4 separate regions of the Homo sapiens genome follow, and all the other regions are linked to region 2. Evidence: promoter capture Hi-C in 16 types of primary human blood cells and fetal thymus (Javierre and others, 2016). All regions are on one chromosome and are shown on one strand. The core of a region is centred on a gene start or on the middle of the fragment in contact, and the rest is flanking DNA. Distances in the headings are between cores, read along the strand shown. Region 1 overlaps IL1R2 (interleukin 1 receptor type 2). Region 2 holds the start of IL1RL2 (interleukin 1 receptor like 2). Region 3 holds the start of LOC107985926 (a long non-coding RNA gene). Region 4 overlaps IL18RAP (interleukin 18 receptor accessory protein).

What was found. The method cuts DNA at HindIII sites, captures the fragments that hold promoters and counts their contacts. A CHiCAGO score of 5 or more calls a contact.
Region 1: a fragment that was not itself captured here is called in contact with the fragment with the promoter of IL1RL2 in region 2 in 9 of 17 cell types (M2 macrophages, M1 macrophages, M0 macrophages and 6 more); the score reaches 10.4 in M2 macrophages.
Region 3: a contact is called between a fragment that was not itself captured here and the fragment with the promoter of IL1RL2 in region 2, in 2 of 17 cell types (activated CD4 T cells and M2 macrophages). The highest score is 6.0, in activated CD4 T cells.
Region 4: a fragment that was not itself captured here is called in contact with the fragment with the promoter of IL1RL2 in region 2 in 6 of 17 cell types (activated CD4 T cells, naive CD4 T cells, M2 macrophages and 3 more); the score reaches 9.4 in activated CD4 T cells.

The regions. Positions count from the first base shown.
Region 1 is chr2:102,005,898-102,008,597 of GRCh38, forward strand. It overlaps IL1R2 (interleukin 1 receptor type 2), which reads left to right. Exons shown (of 9, transcript NM_004633.4): 2 at 2,618-2,700. The coding sequence starts at 2,679. Among named protein-coding and RNA genes, the nearest start is that of IL1R2, 15 kb to the left of the region's middle. The HindIII fragment of the contact is 621 bases long and covers 1,053-1,673 here.
Region 2 is chr2:102,185,707-102,188,406 of GRCh38, forward strand. IL1RL2 (interleukin 1 receptor like 2) reads left to right here and starts at 1,317. Exons shown (of 12, transcript NM_003854.4): 1 at 1,317-1,380; 2 at 2,150-2,219. The coding sequence starts at 2,162. RefSeq lists an enhancer at 973-1,502. The HindIII fragment of the contact is 3,870 bases long and covers 685-2,700 here.
Region 3 is chr2:102,041,858-102,044,557 of GRCh38, forward strand. It overlaps LOC107985926 (a long non-coding RNA gene), which reads left to right and starts at 569. Exons shown (of 3, transcript XR_001739615.1): 1 at 569-1,232; 2 at 1,794-1,907; 3 at 2,117-2,700. RefSeq lists an enhancer at 1-759. The HindIII fragment of the contact is 3,739 bases long and covers 1-2,700 here.
Region 4 is chr2:102,425,417-102,428,116 of GRCh38, forward strand. All of the region lies in intron 3 of IL18RAP (interleukin 18 receptor accessory protein), which reads left to right. Among named protein-coding and RNA genes, the nearest start is that of IL18RAP, 3.6 kb to the left of the region's middle. The HindIII fragment of the contact is 1,797 bases long and covers 474-2,270 here.

The DNA.
Region 1 (2,700 bases), core at 113-2,612, 180 kb before region 2:
GGGTTTAAATTTCAACATCTGCTTACTAGCTGTAAGATCTCGGCCAGGCCTTTTAACCCCTTTAAACTCTTATAATACATCCTCTGTAAAATCAGCATGATACTCAGTTTGTGGGGATAAAATGCAAGAATGAATGTTCAATATTTGGCACAATAGCTATTGTTATACACTAGTCCCTAAAACACCAGCTTTGACTTCATTTACTTATCCTGATATATGGTATTGGTTAGCTACAGTGTATTTAAATTCCTACTTCTTTCATGTTCTAATGGTGCACTAATGAGTCTGGCTTGGACCAGTATAGTTGGGGATGTGATAAGCTAATGCGTGTCCAAGGAGGACACAGCAGCTTGGTGGATGTTTATGTGACCTTCATCTGGCAAACCTGACAGTATGGTTAGGGGTAAAGTCACAGGAACTATTTGTGCTTCAGAAACTCGTGAAGAATAGTATTGTGTAGAAACAGAGTTTAAGGGAGAAAGCTCCAGGCTAGATACATAGCTAAGGGGAATATCTCAGGTCACCAGAAGGGGGAGCTCAGACTGTAACTCTGAGTCCTTGGACTCAGGGTTCCCCACTCACGAGGGAGGGTTTCTGGAGTGCGAGGGTCGGTTCCTCAATGCCGCAATGCCGCCCTGGATTTACTGCAAGTCATTCCCAGAGATATCTGTGCAAGGAGCAGGGAACAACTCAAGGTAAAAGTGGCTGGGAATTTTTCCCCTGGATTCATTCACAACTCCTGCCGTGGGCAGGCTTTTAGTCATAAGTATTCCCCGGTATGTTCTAGTGTGTGGGCCATGAGGGCTGTGAGCAAGACCAGGGCTCTGCCCCAAGGTTGTCACCATCCTTGCGGAGCCAGAAGAGTCAGGCATGGCAGCTGGCACGACTGCTCCCACTTCCGGCCCTGCCGATGGCCGGGTGGGGCATTGACTTGCTGTGTCGGATGGAATGTGAGCAGACAAGAGTGAGTTAGTTCCCAGTGTGGCCTCGTGTGTGCTTTTGGCCGCATCGTTTCCAGTTTCGCCATCCCCAAAGAGGATCATCTCCCAGGAAGCTTACTGGTCCAAGGAGGATGAGACACCCATGGAGCAGACTTGGACCCCATCTGCCGCTCAGAGCCAGGCCTAACCCTGCCAAGTTTAGGTTAACCAACTTCCATCTTGCCCACAGACTTGTGAGCAAGAGTGAACGACCGTTGTTTCACACCATTCAGTTCTGGGGTCGTTGGTTTGTTAAGCAGCATCGTTGTGGCCGTGGTTAGCAGACACAGGGAACACTTGTGATAGTGTGAGAAGGTCATCAGGGAGACGAGGAGGGCATCTGACACTCCAGTCTTTGGGGGGCATGGGGGAGGACTGCTTCATAAACTTGTACAAGCTATTTCTGTTTTGGATTTCTTGTTGCTTTTCTCCCTGGGATGCTGTAGACCAGAGTGTTAGCAGGACACCAAATCTCTTGGCGCATGTCAGAGTTGTATGTAAAACAGGAGTTAATCCGTAGGGGATATAGGGAAAACTCTCTGACAAGTGAAATATGAGGACTCTTGGGCTTTGAGTGATCCATTAACTCACTCATTCATTCATTCAAAAAATGAGAGTTAGGGACAGAACTGTGAATAAGATAAAGCAGGGTTCTGTCAACCAAAAAGTATCTGACAGTCTTAATAATTTAGAAGCTTATTTTGCCAAGATTAAGGACAATGCCCAGGAGAAAAAACATGGAATCACAGAAAAAGCAGTCTGTGGTCTGTGCCTTTCTCCAAAGATGATTTTGAGGGCTTCAATATGTAAAGTTTTTCCCCTATTGAAAAGCAGGCTGGAGGGCAGAGAGGGAGGGTGCAGTCATTACTGAATCCATGTGTTGCAAGGGAAAAGAAATAGGTAGGGAATAGTCAATTATATTCCTCTTATACTCAGTAAATCTGCTCTTCACATATGATAAGGTAAACATAGAGTGGCTACCTGTGGAGAATTTTTAAAATCTTTTATCTGTACGCTCTCTGCTTAGGAACAAAAGGAAAGGCAGCTTCTTGCAGGACTCAGACTTCAGCTTATTTTTTTCCTTTTGGCAGAGTGAATTGGGGGTCCCAAGTTTTTATTTTCCTTTCACAGTCCTTCCATCAGTGGAGCCTGAATTCTGGAGAGGGGAGACAAGGCTGATGATGAATGCCACAGAGAATGACAGGGAAGGGAAGGAAAACATGGAGTATTGGGATTAAAGGTGGTGCAATTTTAGATAGGGAGGTGAGGGAGACCTCACGAAGAAAGTGAAGTCCGAGCAGAAAGGGCACTGGCAGTGGCCTTAGCTGAGGAAGCAGCATCTCTGGCCAAGGCGCAGGAATGGCTAAGGGAGGTCTCTGCAGAGACAGCAGCTTATGGGGCAGAGCCCCTCTGCCAAGCACGCCTCTAGGTGCTACAAGGATTCGACTTTAGATATGTTCAGTGAATATAGCTGCAGAGAAACAAATCCAAAAATTTTGAGTTTTGTTCTTAAACAGAGTAGGCCAAAAGGTTCCCATTATCCAGTGAAGCTTCCAGACCCTGCCCCTACCCCGTCTTCAAGGGATTCTCTCTGCAGGGTTCTTGGTTCCTGGTGACACCTCTGTTTCCTCCCCTAGGCCACGTGCTGCTGGGTCTCAGTCCTCCACTTCCCGTGTCCTCTGGAAGTTGTCAGGAGCAATGTTGCGCTTGTACGTGTTGG
Region 2 (2,700 bases), core at 67-2,566:
ACTGCTCATAGAAATAATTCTGAATGCAAATCATATGACTTTTATAAAAATAGTAACACTTTTGTTTTGTTTTGGATGAGGACATAAACGCTGAAGAATATACATATACAGAGGAACCTCGTTTACTGCTGATAGTAGGGGAAATAAATAATAATCTCTATTTATAGCTTAAGAAAGAGGTCCTCAAAGAGTGGGAGCCCTATGGGTCCCTGAGAGACCCTTCAAAAAGATCTGTGAAATCAAAACTATGTTCATCGTAATATTAAGACCTTATATTCCTTTTTTATTCTCATTCTCTCATTAGTGTATGGTGGACCTTTTCAGAAGCTATATGACATATTATATCATGACACTGATTGCAGAAGCAAGTATGAGAATCCAGTCATCTTCTAGTAAGCCAGACATCAAAGAGATCTGCATCTATGTAGAACAATGCCGCTTTTCTCAATAAGCCTGTTTTAGAAAGTAGAGTTATTTTTCATAAATTGTATGATATTTGCGTTAACATGTAATGGGTTTATTGTCACTTAAATAAGAAAGTAAACGTTTAAAAATTCTCCCTTTAACTTCTAATGTAGTAATATTGACAGGCATAACCTACATAGACAAAAGCACTTTGGAATCCTCAATACTTTTTAAGAGTGTAGAAATCTACAAACCACTGACCTTCAGCCTATCACAGGAAGCTTTGCTATTAGCACAATTATTGCATCTCTGCTCCTATGGTTGCTTTTGTCTCACTGTCTCTGATCTTTCAAAGACCGTTGGGAAGAGCTTGACCAGTAATCTATTGAATGGAGATTACATTTTGAACCTTTTCCTACAACTCAGTGCCCTGTGGGATGACTCTGGGGTGTCTCCTGATGGCTAGGGCAACAGGTCCCTGTTGACATCACCTTATCGGGAAGTTTTAGACAGGAACAGTCTTCAGGCTCTGAAGTACTTGAACACCATGGGATTCCTGCCTTACAGAAGTTAATGAGCACGACTCAGGCAGATTCATAATTCTCCTTAGAAGCCATTTGGGATGGCTTCCACTTTGGGGTCATTCCACATAGGCCAATGCAGAGCATGCAGTAACTGCTCAAATAGGATTTGGAAAGGAATGAATAATTCATTTAGACGTTCAACTTGGAATAGACTTAAGCAGACACTCCTGGTGATGAAGGACTTAGATGCCAGAAAATCAGGCTCAAAGACTTTCAAGCCACTTCCTAGTGTGATGTCACATTCCTTCCTACGCTCCACTGGGGAAGGCAGGTCTGCCCCGCCCACGGTGGCGGGGAAATACCTAGGCATGGAAGTGGCATGACAGGGCTCGTGTCCCTGTCATATTTTCCACTCTCCACGAGGTCCTGCGCGCTTCAATCCTGCAGGCAGGTAGACACCGGGCCGGGAGTCTGGCTGAGCCAGGCATGGGTGGGGCCCTGACAGTAGGAGAGGTGTGCAGGAAAAGACGTGGCAACAATGTGTGCCACCGCAGGCCAGGGATCAGGCCCCCCAGGCCGGCCCCCGACCGGCTAGGTGACCATGGGGGAGCCGACTCCGTCTCTGGGTCGAGGAGTGGAGCTCGCGGCTATTTTCAGCTCCAGCGGCTCCCTGCCTTCCTTTCTCCTTTCCCGCTGGCCCTTGCCAGGTAGGCCTGCCCTGGCTGCTCCCCAGTGAGCGGGTGTTTGGGGTTTCTGTTTAGACCGCCAGGCTCGGGTGGATCCCGAGGACACAGGCGCGCAGGGGAGGCTCCGTGCGCCGCGAGCGGGGTTGGGGTCCCACGTCTGGAACCCAGGCCGCAGGCTGCGCTGGGGGGCGCCCTGGCCCTCACGGGGGCTCTGGACACCAGCCTGCTTCGCTGTCAGGTGGCAGAAGCAGCTCCCACGCGGTCCCCACCGCCGCCGCCGCCTACTCCTCGCCCATCCTCCTCTGCGGCGGGGCGAGCTCCCTGCCCTGGATCCTGGTCGGGCGCCCAGACGAAGGAGACAGGGGAAGGGCAGTCTTTGGGGAAACGTGGGGCCAAAGTCGGAGGGCTCCCCAGGAAAAAGGGAAGGTCAGCGGCCTGGGCGGTTGTCTTTGAGATTCCGAGGTCGCCCACGCCGGCGCCTCGGGCCCGCCCTACTGCGTCCTCCCCTCCCACCCTCTTCTCCCTTCCTTGCAGCCCGGTTTGGGGATGTGGTCCTTGCTGCTCTGCGGGTTGTCCATCGCCCTTCCACTGTCTGTCACAGCAGGTACGTTCCGTGTGTCCTCCGTTCCCAGAGGCTGCCCGAGTCCACAGGCTCCTGGCCTGTCATTGGGAGCCCCCGGGGATCGCGTCAGCCCGAGCGCGGCTCCTTCCCCTCCCCAGACCGCCAGGCGGAGTTCCGCGGAAGAGGAAACAGAGAACCAGCTCCACGTGCTCGGATGCTCAGCCCTGAATGTCGCCTTTGAGCTTGGAGGTGACTTCGGGGAGGGGAAGGAGTTAGGCAAATTCCAAGTGAAGACTTGAGTAACAATGCTCAAATGGAATTACTACAGGCTATTTTATAAGATAAAGCGTTATTTTATGACACAAGGTGAAAGCAAGGAAACCGTCAATAGAACAAATTTCTTCTAAGAAATTTGGTATGGCCGGGCGCAGTGGCTCATGCCTGTAATCCCAGTACTTTGGGAGGCCAAGGCGGGCGGATCACGAGGTCAGGAGATCTAGACCATCCTGGCTAACACGGTGAA
Region 3 (2,700 bases), core at 40-2,539, 140 kb before region 2:
GTCCCAGCTTCCTACGAACCTAGCAAAATGCTTCAAAGACAGCAGGATGGCCATGCCACATGAGCCTTCAGATGTGTCCCTCTGCTCTGCAACAAGGATCCGTGATCTGGTTCCCAGGCCTGCCTTTCCTTATCTTGGGGCAACTTATTCCCCCAGTGGGGATATTGTTTTAAAGGATAAGGGGCAGCCAGTGCTCCCTGATTTTGGAAAGGAGGTGAATCTGGGGTAAGGCAAAATGTCAGCTCTACATGCAGTACAACAGTCCCAGAGTGCTCAGTCAGCCAAGACCCAGGGTGGGTTGACACTTACATACCTGAGTTCCTGTTGAGCACGTGGCTTATTCTTTTATGCTGAGACTCTCAGAAAGAAAGAAAGGAAGGAAGAAAGAAAGGAGAAGAGAGGAGAGAGGGAGAGAGGAGAAAGAGAGGGAGAAAAAGAAAAAGAAAGATGAGAGCAGAGAAGAAGGAAGAAAGGAAGGAAAAAGGAAGAAGGAAGGAAAAAAAGAGAGTAAGAAAGAAAGGAGAGGGAAGGAGGAAGGAAGAAAGAACAAAAGAAAAAGAAAAAAACAAACAACCAAATAAGCAAAAATATCTAAACTGAATCACAGAGGAGAATGTAGTCAATGCAAGTTACCACAATATGCTGTGGGAACACAGGAGGGGAGAAGTGGTGTCCAGGGTGGCCATGTGTGTCAGTGGTGGAGGGCAAATAGGAAAGAGGACAAGGTCAGTGCATAAATCACAGGTGAAAGAACATCTTGTGTATTCATTCATTCATTCATTCATTCGACAAATAGTAATTTTTCCTTTCTTGGCTAGGGAATACAGACCTGTCCCCTGTCCTGTGGGAGCTTAAATCTCATGAAGAAGACAGACAAAGATAATATAATGACCCAGATAAAATGTAAACTTGTGGAAAGTGTAGGGAAGGAGAGAGCTGTGTTTGCTGTAAGTGGGTATAACCAGGGGATTTCCCCCACCCAGGGAGGTCAGAGAAGGATGTTTAAGGGTGGGTGAGATTTCAACACCTCAGAGGAGGGCGAGATATCCTATTAGGAGAAACAGACTGGGCAGTGAGCAGGGCTGGAAAGGGCTGGCCAGGTGTAGGGAAAGATGAGTGGTCTGGACCCATGAAAATGGCAGGGAATGAATGAGAGACAATGAGGTACGAGGCTCTGCGCCTGGCAGTTTCTATGTTTGGAGTTTATGTTACACTTAGAACAATCCTGTAAGGTAAGAATTCCCTTGGTTTTTGTTCTCCTGGAGGTAGATCCTGAGGTAAAGACTTGGATGCAGGCAATTTATGGGGGAAGTGATTCCAGGAAGCAAGGATAAGGGGGCAGGGAGACTGGCCCATTCTCCCTGCCCAGTCTTAATTGGTGTTTCCATTTAAGGAAACACCATGCTAAGGGTGACTTACGGAGGTCACCTGCCGTGGCTGATGGAGTTCGTGTCCACCAGGACTTTCTCAAAAGTACATACAAGTTCTCCCACAATTTTTTTCTTGAAGGAATGGACATAGCTCAAGAATTAGGGGTTCCTGAGACAACTACTGCAGGTGTTGTATTCATTTTAAAGCCAAGGATCAGAAAATTTCAGTCCCTTGCTTAAATTTACATGGCTGGTAATTGACAGAGCAGGGACTTGAACTTAGGTGGATTGTGATTGCAAAGTTCTTACTCTTACCATCATAATTTGCTGTCCTCTTCCCTATGTATTAAAACATAATTGTCTAATGGATATTAATGTCAATGTTGCTATGATATTTTTTCTAACATTCATTAATTCTTCCAGCCCTAAAGGTGATGTTGAACCTCTGATTCTGCTACAGTACTAAGATTTATTATGTCACTGGAGGGCAGTGAAGATATGATGTGACATGATGTACAGAGCAAACCAACTGGCCCTGTGAGTACTTAATCCAAGCATAACATTGTGAAAGGGATAAAAATAGAGTCTGTGGTGGATTAAAGATGCCCATGAATTCTTTGCTACTTCTTTCATTTAAAAATGGAGTTTAAATCCTCTTTTCCTAAATGCGGGGTGGTCTTAGTGACTTGATTGACCAATAGAATGAGACAGAAGTGACTTTCTGGGACTTCTGGGAATCCCTGCAGCTTGCAACTGGAACTCTTGAATGGAACACTTGCTCTTGGAGTCCTGAGGGGCCATTGAAGGTATCCAACTACTCTGAGGCTCCCATGCTGGAGAGATCCCAGGTAAGTGCTCCAGTTGAGGGTCTCAGCTGACCCCAGTCTTCCAGCTGTCCTTGCCAAGGTGCCAGATGTATGAGAGCCCCTCCAGACCAGACCATCTTTTAGTCCAGTGCCACCAAGTCAACTCTGTTGATGCCACATGGAACAGACGAACCACTCAGCTGTGCCCTGTCCAAATTCCTGACCTAAAAAATTCTGAGGTAAAATAACATATTTTTAATGTTAAACTTCTAAGTTCTGGGCTAGTTACTCAGGAAGGGAGGACTGGAACATGACCACCACTTTCTATTTCCTGTAGTCACTGCAGTATTACTCTTCTTAGCAGACTATGTAGCATGTTTAATGTAGGCTGAAATGTTAGGTTGAAGTTCAGCTGTTTGGACTAAGTTCTGTTATAGACACATTTAGCAATCATTGGAAGTTTGGGAAACTCTCTTTTTCTCTGTTTGTTAGCATGCCTGGAACTTTGAATAATGCATCTGAAG
Region 4 (2,700 bases), core at 122-2,621, 240 kb after region 2:
TGTTATCACATCCTTTACAGAAATAAATATACAGGGTGGACGAACGGCATGGGGTATGGTCTCAAATTTGTGTTTTTATATGACACTGAAAGAATGCTGGTCTCAATAAAACCCTAATTTCAGAAACATTCATTTCATAACCTTTAAAATGAGGTTAGTAAGAAGAGCCAATAGTTTTGTTCATTATTTTCAGTTCTCTCTCAAGAACAAAACTTCCTTTGGTTCAAAGTATCCGTCATCCAGGATGGCAGCTGTCTTGTTGTCTTGGTGGGCTGTTCTCAGGCCTGTAAAGCAGTCTTGTCCCCGTTATTTCAGATGAAAATGTGTTTGGCTTTTCAATGATCATACACCTGAAGTGAAAGCTATGAATTTTTACTTTTCAGGTGAGCACAAGTTGCATAATAGTAGCCAGCTTTCTGCAAATATTGCTTTTATAAACTAAACCCTAAAACTGTATGACATTCACAAAAGGAAGCTTTGTTTCACTTCCCTGGGGCTTTGACTGCAAACGTCAACATGTGTTTAATGGTGAACAGGCAGCCACCTTAAGAATAGGTGAACAATGGCTGTTATGAAAATTGTACCTCTGATACAGATTTGGACAGGTCCTGGTTTTGTGAATTACACATATGTGTGTGTGCACTCACACATACACATGCATATAAAGGCACATAGTAACCTGGAAATCACAGACCTTATGGCAGTAGTACATCACTAAAAGTGATGGCATTAGGCAGGAAAAAACACCTAATGCCTTTTTCCTTCATGCTAACCCCCAGGTTCTCAGGTGGTGGGTAAGTCATACCTACGACCCATCTCTGAATAGGTGAAGCTGGCACTGGCTGAGAGAATGAAAACATGGCTTTACTGAATTCAAATAAAACTGCTGACCAGGGATACACCCACCAGATATACAGAGTATACAACTGAAATAAATCCCTGGGCTTGGAGTCTCTGGAGCATTCCACAATATTTTTAATTGGCGAATTAAGAACAGGCTTGCAGATTGTTTAAATTTTTTTCAACTTCTTTATTTTAAAATTATTTTTAATTAACAAATCATAATTGTATACATTTACAATAGATTAAATATATACAATACATTTAATGGTCAATAGATTTTAAAAAAAGATGCCAAGAACTCACAATGGGGAAAGGATTACCTCTCCAATAAGTGGTGTTAGGAAAACTGGTTATCTACAGGGAGAAGAATGAAATTGTATCTCATACCACATGCAAAAAAAAGTATTGATGTGATGTTTTGATATATGTATACAATGTGGAGTGATTAACTCAAGCTAATTAACACATCCATCACCTTGCTTACTTTTTTTGTGGACAGACATTTGAAACTTACTCTCTTAGTTATTTTGAAATGTGCAATACAATATTATTGGCTATAGTTATCTTGCTGTGAAATATGCCTGAAAACTTAACTCCTCCCATCTATCTGAAACTTTGTACTCTTTGACCAGTATCTCCCCATTCACCCTCTTCTCCCCACCAATCAAGCCTCCATAATCATCATTCTATTCTCTACTTCTATGAGTTCAACTTTTTAAGGTTCTATATATGAGTGAGCTCTTGCAGCATTTGTCTTTCTGTGCCCGGCTTATTTCACTTAGCATAGCTTCCAAGTTTATTCGTGTTCTCCCACATGATTGAATTTCCTTTTGTAAAGGCTGAATAGTATTTCGTTGCATACATGTACCACATTTTCTTTGTCCATTCCTCTGTTGATGGACACTAAGGTTGATTCCATATCTTGGCTATTGTGAATAGTGCTGCAGTAAGCATAGGAGCGTAGTTAACCCTTTGCCATACTGATTTCAATCTCTTTGGATATGTACCCAAAAGTGGGATTGCTGAATCATATGGTAGCTCTATTTTTAGTTTTTCTGATGAGACTTCATAGAGTTTCTCTTAATGGCTGTACTAATTTACATTTCTACCAACAATGTACAACAGATTAATTTTTTTGATAAAAGCCGCTCTAACAAGTGTGAGGTGATATGTCATTGTGGTTTCAATTTGTATTTCTATGATGATTAGTGATACTCAGCATTTTTTCATATAGTTGTTGGCCATTTGCATCCTTTCTTTTGAGAAATATCTTTTCAGGTCTCTTGCCTATTTTTAAAATGGGCTATTTGTTTTCTTGCTAATGCAGTGTTTGAGTTCCTTATATATTCTTCACATTAACTCCTTATCAGATATATAGCTTGTAAATATTTTCCCCATTTGGTGGGTTGTTTCCTTTGCTACACAGAAGCTTTTTAGTTTTATGCTATATCATTTTTCTATTTTTGTTTTTGTTGCCTGTGCTTTCAGGGTCATATTCAAAAGAATATTTGCCCATAACAGTGCTGTAGAGCTTTCCCTCTATGTTTTCTTTTAGAAGTTTTACAACTTTAGGTCTTCTATTTCATTCTTTAACCCATTTTGAATTGATGGGTTGTATGTGCTATGAGATACAATTTCATTCTTCTCCCTGTAGATAGCCGGTTTTCCTAACACCATTTATTGGAGAGATAATCCTTTCCCCATTGTGTGTTCTTGGCATCTTTTTTTTTTTTTTTAATTTATTGACCATAAATGTGTGGGTTTCTTTCTGGGCTTTCTGTCATATTCCATTTGTTCATGTGTCTGTTTTTATGCCAGTACCATGCTGTTTTGATTTAAATGGCTTAACAATATATT